Regions from separate parts of the Homo sapiens genome. Here region 1 is linked to region 2. The links are contacts of gene promoters, found by promoter capture Hi-C in human tissues and cell types (Jung and others, 2019). All regions are on one chromosome and are shown on one strand. Each heading gives the region's core, a stretch centred on a gene start or on the middle of the fragment in contact. The rest is flanking DNA. Distances are from core to core; before and after follow the strand shown. Region 1 holds the start of SGTA (small glutamine rich tetratricopeptide repeat co-chaperone alpha). Region 2 holds the start of MKNK2 (MAPK interacting serine/threonine kinase 2).

Region 1 (2,700 bases), core at 64-2,563, 730 kb after region 2:
GCCTCCTGAGTAGCTGGGATTACAGGTGCACACCACCATGCCCAGCTAATTTTCATATTTTCAGTAGAGACGGGGTTTCACCACGTTGGCTAGGCTGGTCTTGAACTCCTGACCTCAGGTCATCAGCCCGTATGGTAGGGTTTTTAAAGCATTATTGACATTTAAAGCTGGATCATTTTCTGGGGTGAGGCCGTCCTGGGTACTGCAGGGTGCCGAGCAGCAACCCTGGCCTCCACCAACTCCAAACCAGGGGGTCCCCCAAATCATGACAAGCACAAATGTCACCAAGAATCCCTGGGGCACAGAATTGTTCCTGGTTGAGAACCACTGGTCAAGGGAGGGAAAAGGCAGACAAAAGGAATAATCAGAGACAGAAACAAAAGAAAATGGGACAATCATTCAACCTCTGAAGGGCACACTACACTGCAATTTTCTGGCACCTAATAACAAAAACAGCTATTCTCAAGCCAGCTCTCTCTTATCAAGTTCCAGGCACCTGATCAAATAATTGAATGTGGGTTTATCCTCATAATGACCCTCCGAGGCATCTGCTTTTACAACTCGTTTGCGAAAGAAGGAACAGTTTGCTCAGAGAGGGAAGGCGACTCACCCAGGTTTACACAGCGGGTGGGAGGTGGTGGTGGACGGTCCTGAATCCCAGATTTCCCCCACCTCTAGCACGATATGCAGAAGAAGACTCTAAACATGATATAAGACGAACGCCTGCTAATTCTTTGGAGTTCTCAGATTCCGCTGGACCCTGCGGCTCTCCTTCTCCTAGGCAGGGACTTTTGAACAACGCCCGTTTTACAGAGGGGAAAACTGAGGCTCCGAGAAGCCAAGAGGCTGGGCAAGGTCACCCAGGTAGGGACTGGCGGCGCTGGAACCAGAGTTCCGACTTCAGTCCCCACAAACGGGGGTCCCTGAGTCACAGGGACGACGTTTCCAGGCGGTTAATAAGAGCGGAACGGCAGCGAACACCCAGCGAGCGCTCACTACATGCGGGGCGCCTTCCCCTCCCGCCGTCCTCGCCACCAGGCCGCGGACCAGCATTTCCAGGACCTGGGGCCTGGGGAAGGGAGATCAGGGCTCGAAGGGCCTGCCCGATGGCGCCCGGCCTCAGTTTCCCCTCCGCACCGCCTACTCACAGGACCCCGCGGGTCGCGGTGACCCTGGCCTCACGATCCCCAAACTCTTACGAGCTTTGGGGCCCCGTGGGCCCCGAGCCGCAGACCCCAGACCCACCAGGCTCAGCGCAGTGCCCCTCACTCACCTCTCAGGCGACCGATCCCCGACCCACCGACGGTTGCGCTTGCGCACCGCGGTGCCGCCCGGCCCCGGCCCCAGGGCGCGACGCCTGCGCAAAAGAAAGGCGCCCGGAGTTGCTTCCCTTCTGCACAGGCGCGTTAATGATGGAGGCGGGCGTGGAAGGAAGTGACGCAACGTAGAGGCGGGAACCAGCTGGTTGTTAGGGCAACTGACCTCTGCGACCTAATGGAGGCCGGAAATCGGGTCTGGTTTGCCCTCTAGAGCGGGAATGAAGCGGTGCACGGTGGAACAGTGGCTGACTCCAGCCGGTCGCCGAGCTGACCACGTGGTGCTGGGCCGGCCACGTGGTGCAGCCGCGTTTGGACACCTGGACTCCAGAGCGTCACAGCTGCGCAATGAATGGGAGTCAGTGTTACCCGCTTACTATCTTTGTTCATTTATTCACCCACCCATCTACTCACCCACAAATGCATTCTTTCATGCAGTGTGAGACGTTTGTGAGTATAGAGCCATTTGTAGACAGCAGGTGCCTAATATTCATTCAATATTTATTGCAAAGCAGCCATAAAAACCAGCAAAGTGTCTACTCTCATTATTTTGCATTGGGGTAGACGGACTATAAACTAATAAACTAGTACATAAATAGAGAAACAAATTTCACAGCAAACACTAAGAAAAAAAAAATGAAGGTAGTGTGATTGTCACTGGGAGCTAAGTCGCATGGGATGGGTAGGAAAGATCATCCTTTACATTTGGATTTCAAGGATAGGAAAGTCCAAACGGACCCCAGGCACAGGGAACAGCGAAAATGAACGCCGATGTAAAATTAATCTTGGTGTTGCTCAAGACATGTGATGAGACATTTCCAAGGACGACAGAAAACTGATCACCATCTAAGTTACAGTTGCCAGAAATGTTCTCCCAATTCATTTTCGTCCTACTCAAAATACATGCACGATTAATGGCGTGGATTATTTTAATTTCTTTTGCAGAAATAAAGGAGGTGAGGCCGGCCGTGGTGGCTCACGCCTGTAATCCCAGCACTTTGGGAGGCCAGGGGGCAGATCACTTGATGTCAGGAGTTCGAGACCAGCCTGGCCAACACGGTGAAACCCTGTATCTACTAAAAATGCAAAAATTAGCCGGGCGTGGTGCGGGCATTTGTAGTCCCAGCTACTCGGGACGCTGAGACAGGAGAATCGCTTGAACCCGAGAGGCAGAGGTTGCAGCGAGCCGAGATCGCGCCATTGCACTCCAGCCTGGGCGACTGAGCGAGACTCCCTCCAGCCCCTCCAAAGCAAAAGAAAACAAAACAAAAACAAAAAAAGGGAAGAAAGGAGGTCGGTTGTTTTGGTTTTTGCCAGTTTAATTGTAGTACATTGTTTTTTCTGGGTGCCCTAACAGTTCAAGACAGATGGTTCAAGATGTTTT
Region 2 (2,700 bases), core at 201-2,700:
GCAGGGGTGGAGTGCTGCCCTGGGGCACTGGCTGGACAGACCTGGGAATTCTTCCCAGTCTCTCTTTGCTCCTCCCACCCTGGAGCACCGCGTTGTGTGTACACACAAGACAGAGACACACACACACACAAACACACACACATACACTCACACTCTCTCTTCCTCTCTCCAGTCCTGCCTTCCCTACCGGGCAACAGGTCCCTGCCCAAGGAAGCCCAGTGAAGCGATTACATAACCCCGGCCTGAGGGGTGGGGCGGGCCGGCTGACATCACTGCGTCCCCTGGGCCAGGTCCTGCGGGGCCCCTGCCCAGCACCTGCCCTCCCCTTCCCCCCCAAGATTTGCTCATCTGAAACCAGCACTCAACAGCAGTCACCACCCGGGCTGCGCAGAAACTTCCCGCTCCGACAGGAAACAGCACTTGGGCCTGGGGTGTCTGCGAAGTGCAGGGCTGAGGGGACATCCCATCCCCTCCCCCACGGCACAGGCCCCCTGGGGGTGGGTGCACCTGACCAGCCCGGCCTGGGGATTCTGAAAGAAAGTCCCCAGAAGCCACATGGAGGTGGGAATGGGACTGTGGCCCGCTGACCCGTCCCCACCAGGGCACAACCAGCTGGAGCTTGCAGGGGACACCCCCCATAAGCCACATGCAGCGACTGGGACAGGACTGCAGCCTGCTGACCCCCCAGAACATACCCGGCGGGGGCTTGCAGGGGACACACAGCCTGGTGCCCTGACCCGGAGGGGGCTCCTGCTCCCAGCCTCACTTGGGGGTCCTGGAGGAAGGACCCGGCGGCCATGGCTGGAGAGAGGACTGTGGCCTGCTGAACCCCCATCCTCGCACACCGACCCCGCTTCAGCGCACGGCCGGCCCGGGCAGCCCCGGGTGTAGGGCGGGGGCCAGGCACGAGCCCCGGGAGCCGATCTTAGGGGCGGGCCCCGCGCCCCCCACGCCGGCCATTCCGGTGGTCCAGCCCGGAGCGCCCCCAAACCGACCCCGGGCCTCACCTTGAACGAACGGTGGAAACCCTGAAGTTCGGCTGGTTTCTTCTGCACCATCTTCTGTCCGGGCCCCGCCAGCGGGGGAGGGGACCGAGGGCCCGGGGGGAGGCCCGAGGGCGGGCGGCCGGGCGGGGGGCGGCCGAGGAGGGGACCCTGCGGGCGGGAGCAGACAAAGGGAGGGCGGTGAGCGGAGCCCGGCCTGCCAGGAGCGCGGACCGGGCGGGGGCGGCGAGGGCTCCGCGGGGCCCGTTTCCCGCTACCGGGTCGGTGTCCTCGGGGCCGCCCTGGGGTTCGCACTCACCGGGGTCGGGCTTGGGCCGGGGCCGCAGTGCCGCCGCCGCCCCACGTCGCGCAGCCCGGACCCCGCTCCGCGGACCGCGCGGGGAACAGCGCCGCCGCCGCCGCCAGCGCGGACCCCTCTACCTGGGCCACCGCCGCTGAGAGGAGCCGGGCGCGTCGCCGCCGCCGCCACCTTTATAGGCCCGGACCTGCTCTGGCCCCGCCCCCGACGCAGGCTCCGCCCGGCCTCACCCCCTGCGCACGACGTGGGCGGAGCCAGAAGAGGGCGCTCTCCGGGAACCCAGTGCGGCTGCGCGCTCCGGCGGTGGGGCGTGTCCGAAACGGCTAGCGCACGCCTGCGCAGTGCGGCGCACGGGGGTCTCGGTGCGGAACCTAGGCAGCGACCCTGCGGCGCGCCCGGAGCTGGCCTGTTTTTGCCGCCTGAGGCTCGCGGGGCCCGTGGGACCTGCGAGGCCCTGGGCCGTGTCCTACCGCCTGGCCCCACACAGGGCAACTCCCTTGGCCTGTCAACCCAGGCCTAGTATACCCCGACTCCCTTGGTTCATGCCCTCGCTCTAGAACCTGCCATGGCTCCCTCTTGCAGTTCTCCAGTGCTGGCTCCAGCAGTCCCCCTCGTGCACCACCAGCACGCTTGGAGTCCCAGCCACTCCCTTCTAGTGCTGGGGGACCAGCCACCGCCACCTACTTTCTTCTTCCCCTGGGCCACCCTGCCTGGGGAGCACTGAGCTCCCCGAGTTTGCTTTGTGGTTGGCAGGAACCAGAGTAGAGGGTGGGGACCGAGGTCTGTGAAGGACCCTTCCTCTGTCCTCGAATAGCATTTCAGGGAGAACTGGGACCTGAGACCCACTGGGAAAGAGCCCAAGGGGTGGATGGTCGCCAGGACAGGAAGTAAAACACAGTCCCATTTTGGCTGGGGCCCCAAACCAGGCTTAGATAGAATCAGCCTGTCCTGAGCTGCCAGTCCCCCATCCCACAGCATCCTGGTTCAAAGTGCTCCCCAGGCCCCGGGCCTGGGGCACACAAGGAGTGGGGGTTCCCCTGCTGGGTGGACTGTGGTCTCCTCTTCTGCAGGGGTTTCCAGAAGCTTCGCACAGCCCATCCCACCATCCCCCAACCAGGCCCTGAGCTCAAGAGGGGCTGGAGCCCCACTGACCTGAAGCTGGAGGGCCCCTGCCTGCAAGGCCACAGCTCTCAGGCCACAGGGGCTGGGAGGCCTGGCCTCAGCCACCCCCGGGGCATTGGGGGGAAGCCTGTGGGGAATTCCCAGCCAGAACCCAGCCCAGCACCTGGCATTGCCCTGACTCTTGGCAATGGGGGGACAGAAAACCAGGTCCCCCAGCCCCCCTTATTGTGCATGTGGGTGCGTGTGTGTGCGTGTGAACACATACACGCACAAACA

What was found. Contacts are between HindIII fragments. The study calls those that stand out against the background at their distance.
Region 1: a contact is called between the fragment with the promoter of SGTA here and the fragment with the promoter of MKNK2 in region 2, in 1 of the 25 tissues and cell types used here (dorsolateral prefrontal cortex).

What each region holds. Positions count from the first base shown.
Region 1 is chr19:2,781,960-2,784,659 of GRCh38, forward strand. It overlaps SGTA (small glutamine rich tetratricopeptide repeat co-chaperone alpha), which reads right to left and starts at 1,314. Exons shown (of 12, transcript NM_003021.4): 1 at 1,274-1,314. RefSeq lists enhancers at 80-179, 1,676-1,745 and a silencer at 1,236-1,285. The HindIII fragment of the contact is 32,124 bases long and covers 1-2,700 here.
Region 2 is chr19:2,049,794-2,052,493 of GRCh38, forward strand. It overlaps MKNK2 (MAPK interacting serine/threonine kinase 2), which reads right to left and starts at 1,451. Exons shown (of 14, transcript NM_199054.3): 1 at 1,303-1,451; 2 at 1,008-1,154. The coding sequence starts at 1,058. RefSeq lists enhancers at 1-359, 536-595 and silencers at 166-355, 1,086-1,625. The HindIII fragment of the contact is 30,775 bases long and covers 1-2,700 here.